4 separate regions of the Homo sapiens genome follow, and regions 1, 3 and 4 are each linked to region 2. The links are contacts of gene promoters, found by promoter capture Hi-C in blood cells and fetal thymus (Javierre and others, 2016). All regions are on one chromosome and are shown on one strand. The core of a region is centred on a gene start or on the middle of the fragment in contact, and the rest is flanking DNA. Distances in the headings are between cores, read along the strand shown.

Evidence for each region. Contacts are between HindIII fragments. The CHiCAGO score rates a contact against its expected background, and 5 or more counts as called.
Region 1: a fragment that was not itself captured here is called in contact with the fragment with the promoter of STRAP in region 2 in 1 of 17 cell types (total CD4 T cells); the score reaches 5.3 in total CD4 T cells.
Region 3: a contact is called between a fragment that was not itself captured here and the fragment with the promoter of STRAP in region 2, in 1 of 17 cell types (naive CD8 T cells). The highest score is 5.8, in naive CD8 T cells.
Region 4: a contact is called between a fragment that was not itself captured here and the fragment with the promoter of STRAP in region 2, in 1 of 17 cell types (non-activated CD4 T cells). The highest score is 5.5, in non-activated CD4 T cells.

Annotation. Positions count from the first base shown.
Region 1 is chr12:15,266,273-15,269,374 of GRCh38, reverse strand. It overlaps LOC105369673 (a long non-coding RNA gene), which reads left to right. Exons shown (of 3, transcript XR_007063224.1): 3 at 233-436. Among named protein-coding and RNA genes, the nearest start is that of RERG, 46 kb to the right of the region's middle. The HindIII fragment of the contact is 9,263 bases long and covers 1-3,102 here.
Region 2 is chr12:15,880,839-15,883,922 of GRCh38, reverse strand. It overlaps STRAP (serine/threonine kinase receptor associated protein), which reads right to left and starts at 1,536. Exons shown (of 10, transcript NM_007178.4): 1 at 1,104-1,536; 2 at 247-382. The coding sequence starts at 1,215. It overlaps LOC102724146 (a long non-coding RNA gene), which reads left to right and starts at 1,625. Exons shown (of 6, transcript XR_007063230.1): 1 at 1,625-2,143; 2 at 2,724-2,816. RefSeq lists enhancers at 1,459-1,578, 1,889-2,118. The HindIII fragment of the contact is 32,342 bases long and covers 1-3,084 here.
Region 3 is chr12:15,153,629-15,156,812 of GRCh38, reverse strand. All of the region lies in intron 2 of RERG (RAS like estrogen regulated growth inhibitor), which reads left to right. It overlaps RERG-AS1 (RERG antisense RNA 1), which reads right to left. Exons shown (of 3, transcript NR_046559.1): 2 at 2,473-2,573; 3 at 1,530-1,617. Among named protein-coding and RNA genes, the nearest start is that of RERG-AS1, 3.3 kb to the right of the region's middle. The HindIII fragment of the contact is 2,500 bases long and covers 39-2,538 here.
Region 4 is chr12:15,219,274-15,222,389 of GRCh38, reverse strand. It overlaps RERG (RAS like estrogen regulated growth inhibitor), which reads left to right and starts at 973. Exons shown (of 5, transcript NM_032918.3): 1 at 973-1,195. It overlaps LOC124902886, which reads right to left and starts at 1,722. Exons shown (of 1, transcript XM_047429948.1): 1 at 412-1,722. The coding sequence starts at 1,145. The coding sequence ends at 828. The HindIII fragment of the contact is 2,404 bases long and covers 493-2,896 here.

The DNA of each region.
Region 1 (3,102 bases), core at 63-2,562, 610 kb after region 2:
TTTACTAAACCCAAAGCTAAGAAATATACTCAATGATATGAATAGAATGTGCTATGGGAATATAAACAAGAAAACACAAAATGCCATGAGACAGCAGAGAGAAAAAAGGCTTAGACACCACGATTTTGGAAAGTTTCACACATTCAGAATTTAAGAAAAAATTGAGAATTGAAATGGGTTTCATGCTCCACCCTTGACTTCTAAAAATGTTATTATCCCTCTCTGACACTAGGTGGCACTACAGATGCAGGCATGGGCAGAAACACGTGAAAGATTTGTGCCTACCTACTTATGATGGGATTCTTCTGCCTCCTGCTGCACTTTGCCTGGGGTAGCCAGACTACAGGAAGACAAATGCTGAAAGGAATAATATCAGTGGGGATTTTGTTCAGGAACAGGAATTCTATCCCAAACTTGGATTTTAATCAATATTCCTTTGATTAAAGGTACAATTTTTAAATTAAAAATTTTCAAGACTTTAAGTTTGAATTATAAATCTTATTTTATTTTTACATTTAGTAACTTTGAAAAAATGCTTTTCTGAATTTGATATGTGAGATCAAATTCTTTTTCAAACAACACCATTTTATGTATTTAATAAAATTGCCTTGGATATGTTAAACTACAATGACAACTTTAATACATCTGTATTATCTCAAATGTTTAATTGACTAAGATATATACAGATTTTATTTTAAACACTCAAATACAGATCTAACAACATCTTGCTAAGTACTGAAATTGTAGAAATTGTAAATCAAGTAAATCAGACTTACAAACATAGTAGATCAAATTCTTCTAAGCATTTCCCAATGGCTTGAGGCCCAGACCACACACACAACACATCATGATTCCCTCCCTACTAACTAGACTAAACTGGAAATGATGCTATAGGCTCTTTTGTATGGTCACATTTTTTGTTTCCAGTGAACAGGGGCTTTCTAAAACTCAGTCTTTTCCTCTGAAATTAACTGCTTAATTTTATGTTTGCAATGCTGTGCCTTTCTCCTAGGTAACCTGTCCCTGACATTCAAAGGGGATTTTCCCAGCACTTTGGGAGGCCGAGGCGGGCGGATTGCCTGAGCTCAGGAGTTCGAGCCCAGCCTGGGCAACATGGTGATACTAAAATACAAAAAAAACCCAAAAAATTAGCAGGGTGTGGCACCTGTAATCCCAGCTACTCGGGAGGCTGAGGTAGGAGAATTGCTTGAACCCAGGAGGCGGAGATTGCGGTGAGCCGAGATCATGCCACTGCACTCCAGCCTGGGTGACATAGCAAGACTCTATCTCCATTAAAAAAAAAAAAAGGAGGGGGGTGATTTTCAGGTCCTGGTGCTTATAATCCCTTTTCTATAATTATTGTGTTATCTCTTCATATAGGCCTAGTGTGTGGTGATGGAATTTAGAACTCCTTCCTTAGGTTGGTTACATCCCTTTTTACTTTCATTGTATATGTGCCTCACTCATCCACACTTTACGGACGTTTAATTAATACAAGCCTATAACTTCCCTTTTATCCTAGAGCAAGGGAAGCAAAACTGTGTCTCAAATAGACTTCCCAGCACTGGACACCAGAGTCAAGAGGCACAGGTTTGAGCCTTTGATCAAAATGGTGCCAGACATCCAAGTCTCAGCAGTTGATCCTGAAATATGGTGAACTCTTCCAGCTTTGAACTCACTTCTGCTTTCACATGTTGTCTGCCCACCATGACCAAAAGTATCAGACATTTTTGTCTGGTACCAACAGCATCAGAGACTATCAGAGATCATATTCACTCAACCCTGTAATTCTACACAGAAGGGATCTGTGGTTTCTCTGTTGACCTGGTGGGCAGTGGTGGAGTTAGGACTAGAACTCAAGTATTATTTTCTTTCTCTGCAACTCCACTTGTATGAGATGCTGGTTTATAGGGACAACTTTTGTCTTATGTAGTTATAGAATATTAAAGAGTCATTTTGTCTAATCCACTTATTACGTAAAAGAAGAATCAATTGCCCCAAGAAGAATCAATTGGCATAGCTAGTGACCTTAGGGAATGACTTGATTTTGTGAGCTTTAATGATAGCTGCTATTTATTGAAAAAGTACCATGTACTAGAAATGTAACTGCTGTTTTCCATGTATAGCAATAATATTGTGAAAAAGGTATTATTGACTAATTAACAGATTAAGTAATTGAGACAAAAAGTTAGTTAACTTCTTTAAGGTAAGAAAAGAGATGAGGAGTCCAGGCGCGGTGCCTCCCACCTGTAATCTCAGCACTCTGGGAGGCTGAGGCGGGTGGATCATCTGAGGTCAGGAGTTCAAGACCAGCCTGGCTAACATGGTGAAACCCTCTCTCTACTAAAAATACAAAAATTAGTCAGGTGTGATGGTGCACAGCGCCTGTAATCCCAGCTACTCGGGAGGCCAAGGCAGGCAAATTGCTTGAACCCAGGAGGCAGAGGCTGCAGTGAACCCAGCATGCCACTCCAGCCTGGGTGACAGAGCAAGACTCTGGGGAATAAAGATGAGGAATTAAACTAGCGTTAACTCTTCTGAACTTGAAAGCCTCTCTATTATTAGCATTTTTGTTTAGTTTTAGTTTAGCTGGATTTTTTAAAAATATAGGACTTATCAGGAGTTTATTACCAAATTGTTATGGAAGTTATTTATAATCTCTTATCTAGGTAGTTTACTGATTTTTAAGTCAAATTTCAATTGACTGTCTGATATGGTTTGGCTCTGTGTGTCCCAACCCAATTCTTCATGTTGAATTGTAATCCCCATGTGTTGGAGGAGGAGCTTGGTGGGAGGTGATTGGATCATGGCGGGGGGGCCTCCCCCTTGCTGTTTTTGTGATAGAGTTCTCATGTGATCTAGTTGTTTAAAAGTGTGTAGCACTTCCCGCTTCACTCTCTCTGTCTCTTGCTGCCATATGAAGATGTGCCTGCTTCCCCTTCGCTTGCAGCTGTGATTGTAAGTTTCCTGAGGCCTCCCCAGCCATGCCTTCTGTATAGCCTGTGAAACTGTGAGTCAGTTAAACCTCTTTTTTTTTAATAAATTACCCAGTTTTGGGTAGTTCTTTATAGCAGCATGAGAATGGGCTAATAAACTGTCGTT
Region 2 (3,084 bases), core at 287-2,786:
TCCTGAGTCTCAATCAAAATATACGGAATAAGTCATTTAGGCCTCTGAAAATTTTGAGAACCACTGAAGACAAAGAAGCACACAGGACCACGATGGACCACGATGGAATTTTGGTGGGATCAAACATGCGTTCTGTATGGCAGCCAGTGAGTCAGAATTTTATGAATATCTGACACTGAAGTTTTTGATTATTTCAGGACACAAGCTACAGAGAACACCAAAGTTAGCCATCTTGGCTACACTTACGCTGTGAAATCTGCAGCTGCTGTAGCTGCTTTGGTGGCATCCTTATTCAGTGTTGCACCCCAAACAGCACCTTTATGACCCAAAAATGTTCCAATCCAGTCTCCTGTATCTCCCTGGCGTAGCATAGGTTTACCATCTAGAAAATATTTTTTAAAACATGTAATTTATAAGTTCAGATTACTTAAAGTCTAAGATTCAAATGTAAATATACAATGATGTTCAATGACAAAGTGGAAAAATTGTTTCAGCTATTTAACTACCACCACCCACTGAAGGCACTAAGGAATGTGCAGTAATAAATTAACTGAAGAGCTGAACAGATCATTCTCTCTGAAAAGCATCTGTAATTGGCTGGGAATACTGATCTGCGTCAAAACAATCTAGATTTTAGTCTTATTTTGGACAGACATCTTAGCCTGAATCTCAGTTTCCCATTTGAAAAATGAGGCTAATACCACAAAGGAATATCCAGTGAGACAAGAGCGAACGTCTTTGTAAGGTATTGCACGGCCTGGCCTAATTTCTCCTTTCCCCAAATCCTTGAAAGCTATTTACCGTGTTGTCCCGAGAGTCTAGGCAAATGCTGACCAGCTCCTTCAAAAATAGCAATAAAAATAAAATAAGGAGAGAGGTCTTAGTTGGAGGTAATAGTTTCTACAAAAGCGTCCTCTCGGCTCCAGCTGCGGATTCCCTAACACACTCCTTTCTCCACCGGACCAGTGTTGGCTCTCATCTCAGATGTTAATATCGCCCCCTCCCCCCTCACCACACCACCGCTTCGGCACTGGAGCGTGCGGGTCCCGATCCCTTTCAGCCCAGTCCCAGCCGTCGAGGACCAGGATTGCGGCCTTGCTCACCTTTGCAAGCGCTGATTAAGAAATACCCATAAGGCGTGATGCCACTGAAGGCCAAATCAACCACGGGTCGCGTGTGGCCAGAGCAGGTGAGCGGCGTCTGTCTCATTGCCATGGCGGCGGCGAAGCCAGCGACCGGACTGGCGAGCTGAGGGTCGTCGTTGTCTTTTCTCTCTTCTGCTGCAGTGCCTCGGGCTGCTCCAGGCCCCCGCCCTGACACTAGGGCTGGGCTGGGCAACAGGAAAAGAAGGGCAATCCGGTGGCACCGAGGTTAGGGAGGGGTGAGGGAGGGGTCAGGGAGTCTGCGACCAGCAAGCAACAGTCGACGAGGGAGGGAAAGGGAGGGAGGGAGGAAAGTAGGGGATGGGGAGAAGCGGAGAACCGGGCCAGCCACGATTCACAGCGTCCACACCGGCATCGGCAGGAAGTGACGACGTAAATGACGCAGAGCACCCGCCGGAAATGACGATTGGCGGGAGGGCGGGCTCGCCGGGTAGAAGTGACTTGAAGAAAGAGCGAGAAGTATAGAAGGGCGCAGGCGCTAGTTCAGTGCTCGTGAGGTAACTGGCGCTGGCCCACGCCGACTAAGGGAGACGCTCTAGGCACCGGGATGGGGTCCCTGTCCCCGAGCTCTAGCGGGTCAGAACGCCTTCCTGGTCCGCGGCCGAGTTGAAAGTTGTTCCCACTCCCATAAGTCCAAGGACCAGCGTCAGCTGTGTACCTGCCGAGCAGCCCTACTGAGGACTGTGCTCGGCCTCTGAATATCTAGACGGACACGAGCCATACCCAGTGACGGCCCAAACCAGCGAACGCTGTCTGGCAACGTTTTTTGCAATTTGTCTTATTTAAAAACCATATACGGGCTTGGAGTGGTGGTGCCTGTGGTCCCACCTACTTGGAAGGCTGAGGTGGGAGGATAACTCGAGCCCGAGAGGTCGACACCGCAGTAAGCGGTGCTCGCGCCACCGCACTCCAGCCTGGGCAACAGAGCGAGACCATGTATTAAAAAAAAAAAAAAAATCCCCAGTCATTTCTTCCGCTGTGTAAGTTTTCCTATGTTGCTAATGTTTTAGGAGTGGATACTATATAGTTTTAAATGCGATTAAATTCAAGTTACTTTTTCCTTGGTGGACTTCGGAGAACTCTAGAGTCGTAGATCCCCAATTTTTTTGATGAAATACTCTCATCCGTAAAGTGAGCCTTCACTCATTTTATAAGCGAATGAATGCTGAATTCTATCAAAAACTTTTACACCTTTTGATATGATGTATATATGAGTGATGATTTGCAAATTACATAGATGTGCATTATAATACATGGACAAAAATAGAAATATTAAAATAATATTTAAATATAAACAAACTCTGATATTGTCTGCAGCAGGCAGCCCACTGTGGCTCTGTGAAACCACCAGAGCTGTTAATTGTTGATACTGTTTCCTAACCAGGAGAGGGCTTTTCTCTGGGCAAGTTGTATCTTTATTGATAGAATGTAAACCCAATACAACAGAGATTTTTGTGTTTTCTTTGCTACTTTATCCCCAAGGTCAAAACGTCTGGGCACATAGCAATAAATATGTAATCAACATAAATGTCTGTGAATGTTTTCTTCATCTTTTTGCAGCAAACACCGTCTACAAGATTCGAGTCAAACAACGTGAGAACTTGAAATACGTCTCCATTCTTTTTCCTTAGTACTCTCGTTCATTCACTTACGGTAAAGCACTTACTATATATGTTTTTCATTTTATCTTGTTCGACTCCTCCTTTGTGCCATCCTCTCCCTTTTGTCTCACACATACGCACCACTCACACATTTATGAACTCCTTAATGGCAATGGTTATGGCTTTGTCATTTGTACTCTAGTGCCAGAAAAGTGAATGGCATTTAGTGAATACTCAGCATGACTGTTTACTGATTAAATAGATTGTTGCATTACTGATGGAGGTAAATAAAAGACCCACTCAAAATGACACAACTGGTC
Region 3 (3,184 bases), core at 39-2,538, 730 kb after region 2:
CACGAAAATGCGCCTGACTTCAGGGTCTGACTTAAGCTTAAACTGCCTTGTTTTATTGATCATATTGATCACTCTATTTCTTTCTCCTGAGGACTCGCAAAGCAATGATAATACCATTCTGCTCTTGCATCATTTGTTGCACATTCTTGTTTAGAAAGAAAATACTAACAACTATTAGAGATTTTCTGAACCTAGTAATTTCATTAACAAGCATTCCCCAAGTCTACAGGGCAAATTTTTTGATACTCACAATGTTACTTCTTGTGAAAATTTTGAAGTGATTTCTGAATCATCAGAGAGATAGAGATTAAAGTGACACTGTTTTAAAAGTTGGTAATTATCATACAATTGCATGAAAGCTGATGTGGTATTTGTGGTAAACTTCCGTATTAGGATGGGTAAGCCTGTATGGCAGGGTTCTTAACCTGAACTCCAGATCCAGCAAAGGGTCCACAGGTAGATTTCAGGGGGTCTGTGAACTTGTATGGGAAAACATTTCATCTACATTTTCATGCACCCTTAAATGACATTTGGCACTGCCTTCCATGATGAATGTAGAAACAAATCACAGTGTTAGCAATACCTGTGACTTTGTCCCTAATAGAAATGATGGATATTTCCATTCGTATCAGTTGTTGCTGATATCTCAAAATGTTATTTTTCGTCATCATTAATGTGAAATCATAATTAATAAGCTCAAGACCAGATTATATTGAACATATTAATAAAGAATGTAATTACTATATCACCTATTTATTTTAAAAAATGTTTTTCTAACAGTATATCAATATTTATAAATATATATATATATTTTTTTATTATACTTTAAGTTTTAGGGTACATGTGCACTTTGTGCAGGTTAGTTACATATGTATACATGTGCCATATTTCATCATAGTTGATTTTATTTGTAATGACATATATTTTATATATATTTAAAAAGTATTATTATGAGAAATAGTTCAAAGGCTGTGCACAAATGGTTTACAGCACAAAAGGGGTGAAAGATCCAGCTCTATAATATAAACTTCATGGTAGCCCTAGTGGAGAATACCCTTGCTTAACAACTGGCTGTTTTCAGAGTCCCCTGGGGGCCCTGCAGTGACTCCAGGAGTAGAGAAAGGCTGTAAATGCTAGAACAAGATAATTGTCAGGTACTACCAAGAAGCCCTACCCAGCCTTCCCAATTAGAAGACAGGAGTCCCCCAATCCCAACCACTTTCAGGTCCTAGTTTCTGCCCAACCCCATTACCTGTTCTTCTTACTCAATTTTAATGAAAGCAGCTCTACTGGCAGCAACTTCATTGTGACCCCAGTGCTCTGGCAAGCTGGGCCTGTGTCAGCAGGCCACAGGGGTGGATGAGAGCCAAGACTTTTGTGATTGCCTCTACCCTCATTTTCCTGTGGAAACACAGCTCAGAAGGACTATGCTGGAGGGTTGATCAGCTTGGTTATGTATTTGCTTTGCGGAAACCTTAAGTTGTCCTTTTATGTGTCACTTTCTCTCATTTCATTTTTTTAATCCTTTATTTTCCAACAGGCAGGTTCTGGTCACACCTACCCAGGTGGCACCAGGTGTGTGCATGTTTTTCCAAAAGTTACAATGCAGCATAGACACTGGAAAATGAAGATGAAAAAACACAGTGGTGTTAGATTACTTCATATACTTCAACACCATGCCTGCTTTTTCCTTTTTTTAATTGCTTGTTTTATATTCTTTATTTAGTTTTTTCCAGTCTGAATATCTCTTAGCTGAGTTTCTTATCCCAATTAATCATTTTATACATACACTGGTTTCTTTTCCAAGTCTCTTTGTAAAGCAAGAATCAATATGAGGTGTCAGTGTCTAAAGCCTTCACACTTAGCAACTTAACATTTTAAAAAATGAAAATATATAATACTACAATTTCATTTAAATTAACTATTCTGAAGCTCCTCCATCAAATATTAGGAAAGACCCTTTTAAAGTTTAATACATTTTTAAAATTCTAGGTATGAAAATTCTGTTTACATAATAGTCTTTAAGTTGCTGTCTCACCTAAATAAGACACAGAGGCAGTGTTTATGAATATGATTGCCGAGTGAGATTGAGACAAATTTCAACCTACATTGATTGTCCTATTTGGCAGGAGACCAACGAGCTGCCACATAATGTACGCACCAGAAGACTGGCTATGTTCTTTGGCCATCAGCGGATGTCCATGGTTGCTGCCTATAATTGCAGTGTTTTTCCCATTCTGCAAATTTCTCATTAATCAGGTTACTTTAGCTATTTGGCCAAATTTTCCTCGAAGAAAATGAAATACAATCAATCCCTGATTCTTTTCTGATTATTAGAGACACTGCTCTCCTTCATAAGGAACAATAATCAAAGTAGAATTTATATTTGGCTTCATAATGCAATATGTGAGTTTTTCCAACAGATTTGCCCTCTTAATTGCTTTGGTCTGGCAAACTTTAAAAGGAACTTGCCTTACGTGGATGGCAGTATGAGGTTGTCCAGAACTGAACCGGGTGGTTGGCAATCTGAACAAAGCTTCTGTGCTTTATTGATTGCCAGGGAGACTCGGGGGCTAAATGGCAAGCCAAAAGACAAGGATTCAGAATATATAACTGTACTAGTTTGCTAGCACTGCCTCAACAAAGTACCACAAGCTGGGGGGCTTAAACAACAGAAATTTACTGCCTCATGCTTCTGGAGGCTAGAACTCCAAAATCAAGGCGTCAGAAGGATTGGTTCCTTCCAAAGTCTGTAAGGGAGGATCTGTTCCCTGCCTCTGTCCTAGCTTCTGGTAACCTCAGGCCGTCCTTGGCTTGCAGATGGTGTTCTCCTTATGTTTCCATATCATCTCTCTGTGTGTGTCTGTCTCTGTGTCCAAATTTCCCCATTTCATAAGAACATAGTCATATTTAATCACTTAGGGCTTACTCCAATGAAATCATCTTAGCTTGATCATCAACAAAGATCTTATTTTTAAATAAGGTCACATTCACAGATACTAAGATTAGGACTTCAGTGTCCTTTGAGGGGACACAATTCAACCCATAACACTATCTATCTTGAAAAATCACCAGAGAGGATAATTTATAGCCATTGGTAAAATTTATGCAAATCATACAATTTCCCTTCAGTCAATGCATTTATTCTGGGTGCCATATTTAGATGATAGGCTGCCAAAAGTAA
Region 4 (3,116 bases), core at 445-2,944, 660 kb after region 2:
TAGCTGTTCCATTCAGCCATTCACTCGTGGCTGCAGTGACCTTCCAGGTCAGTCTGGACTCTGGAAATTGCCTCCATGGTTACCTCCCTTCCCATTGATGACATTCTACAGATCGTTCAGTTTGCCCTAGGCCCCTGTCTGTTCTATATAACACTGGTTTTCTGGAAGCCGTTTGGTATCTTGGTAAGAATACCCAGATTTATAAGGGAAAAACAATAACATAAGTGCCTCCTGCTTCTTTGCTCAGATGTTTCAGTTTTTGGGAGATCATTTAGCCTCTCTGAAGCTCACCTCCTCATCTGTGAAAGGCTAGTAATTATAATACTAGTTCTTACATGAAGAGAGGGTGTAAAAATCAAATCAGATGAGGGATATGAAAGCAGGTCCAGCACAGCTCGCATATTAATTGTCTTTGTTAGGGTCTGAGCATAATGGAGTATGACTCCAATGCAAATCCTATAAATGCTGATCCTGTAAGGAGGACGAGAAGCTTTTGGAACTTTCTCAAATATATGAATAGAATTTCAATTGAATTCCTTGTTTGTTTTTCCTAGCATCTCTCAGTTCCCAATCCAGTCTGGATTTCATTCCAGCCATTTACTAGCCTTGCGTTACCTTCTCCTTCAGTTTCCTCTTGGGTATCATGGAGATAATTAAAGATACTTCAAAGAGATATTGCGAGGATCATTTGAAATAAGGAATAGAAAACACCACGTAGTGATGCTTTCTTAGGCAAGGTTTTGACCGAGGAAAGCCGCCCTTCGGTGGGAGCCTGGAGGCTTGGAAATAACCAGTGAAAAAGGGAAGCCCGTCTTGGGTGCAGCACGTTAAAGACCCAAGCTCGCAAGCCTGGGAGGCAGCGCGGCGGGAGGAGCCTGCCCCTGCCCCCAGTAGGGGGCGCCGAAGCGCCGCACTGCAGCATCCTGGCCGCTGAGCGCAGCGGCCTTGGCCGGGCTCAGCTCGCGTCCTGCCGCAGTCCCTCCGCCGCTAGTCGGAGCGAGCGCGAGTGAGGAGACCCCCGCCGGGCCACTGGCACTTGCTTCTGCGGCGAGTCCCACCCACGACCGCAGCCCAGCAACTCGCAAACGCAACCTGAAGCCTGGGCTGCGCAGTGTGGGAGGGCTTCGCGATCTTGGGGGACCCATTCCGAACTTGCAGAGGACCGTAGCTCTCCTGGCCTGGAGAGTGTGAACAGGTGAGTGTCACGCACGTGTCCAGGCAGCTCTTTCGGGACGACTTCCTGCAGACCCATTCCGAGCCCTGAGCGCGCTCGGCCTCTGAGTCGGTCCTCTTGGTCACCGGGTTCTCCTCCCAGGGCGGCTTTGGGGTTCGCTGCGAGGGAGATGTGAACACCAGCAGCCTATCTTGACAGGGCTCTCCTAGCTGAGAGGGAAAATGCCCTTTTGACTTAAGGCTGCATTTTCTCCCTAGCCTGAAAGCAAGTGACTTGCAGTCCACAATGGATTTGTTTATTCTTGCAAGATACCTGTTGAGTTCAGAGCAACATTAAATAGCCAAGGGGCTTATACAATTATCCTGGTTTGCTGTGGGTACTGCGTAGTGATAAGAAGAGGAAGAATTCCTAGTAATGAGACCAGGAAAACTTGATTTCAGAACCAGAGAAGGGGAGGCCAAAAAAGAAGAGAATCTCATTTCCAGGCCTAGACTAGGGTCTTTGCTTCCCTAAATAGCTACACTTGATTTTGATGAGCGCATGCAAACAGAAGTTCCAAGCATGATTACCTTATAAAGACGCTTGCTTGCCCCACCCCCAAGAGGAAGTAGAAAGCATGAACCTTGATAAATATAGCCTTGAGAATGATTTATTAGGAATGAAAACTTTCTTTAAATAAGTAAGTAAATAAGGTTACAGTTATCTAAATATCATAGGTCTAACAGAGTGTAAGCTCTTCGAAGGGAACTACTTTTATTTGTATGTGCATAGCGTGAAAGTGTGGAATAAATCAATGAATGCATCACTAATAATACAGGATTTTAGCTAGCGTTTTTCCTTTTTCCTTTAATTTATGTTTAGGGAAAAAAAAACCTACACCTTCAAACTAAATAGGTATGATTTTACCTTTAGAGTGATAGCAGCTGAGATGTTTTTGTCCTAATAAGCACCATCCACATAAAAAGTGAATGGCAAATTTCAGCCCTACTCAGAATATTTCAGCAGAACATTAGGACAAATGGATTTTCTTAGATCCACGTATGGAAGCTCTCAGATTATGAATTATTTGGAACATCAGAAACTTGGCAACAGTTTACTTATTACAACAATTTACATATTTATTTTTGTTTTCTATCTTGTCAAATGTAACTTTTCACATTTTCATGTGAGAAATAAAATGTTGAAGAACTCCTGTCAGTTTTGTGTCTTCCTTTAAGTGATTTTTCTAAACATAAAATTAGGTTGACAATAACCAGCTGTATCTTTATTAGGTTATAAATGGAAAAAATAGCCCACACAATTTCTCTTTCTTATGTGAAATTCCTATGCCTCTGGGGCCATTTGGGAGTTACTAAAAAATGTGACTTGTCATTTTTTTAAAATCACATTTGATGGCTACTTTCATGAAACATTAATCAGACAGATAATTACTTGCATTTTATATCCATGTATATGAACAGTTTTGCATGAAACAAAATTATTGTTTATACTAGCTGCAGACACTTGCGTGTTCAATGTTTCAAAGAAATACTTGCCAGCACCTCTTCTCATTTATAATTTAAATAGTTAATATATCTCCACATATTATGTTTCTGTGATGAAGCCCTGAACCTTAAAAACATAGGGCCTTTTCTTAATGAATGCATCTAAAGTGACAAATAAGGAAATCTTTTTATCTTTAGCCAAAAATATGGGACTGGACAAATTGCAGATGTTTAAGCTTCTGGTTTTTGCTAATAATGATTACTTAGACACTTTGTCATTATTGAGGATGAAGTAAACAATAGCTAATGTTAATGTTGATTTTTCCTTCCTTCAGAGGAAGCTCTGGCACTTTGAAAATCAGCAAATACAAAACCTTATTAGGTACAGGATGATAGCTTAAATACCTAAGGAAGAAAACAATTACATGATAATGTCTTTGTAGAAATACTTTTTCAGG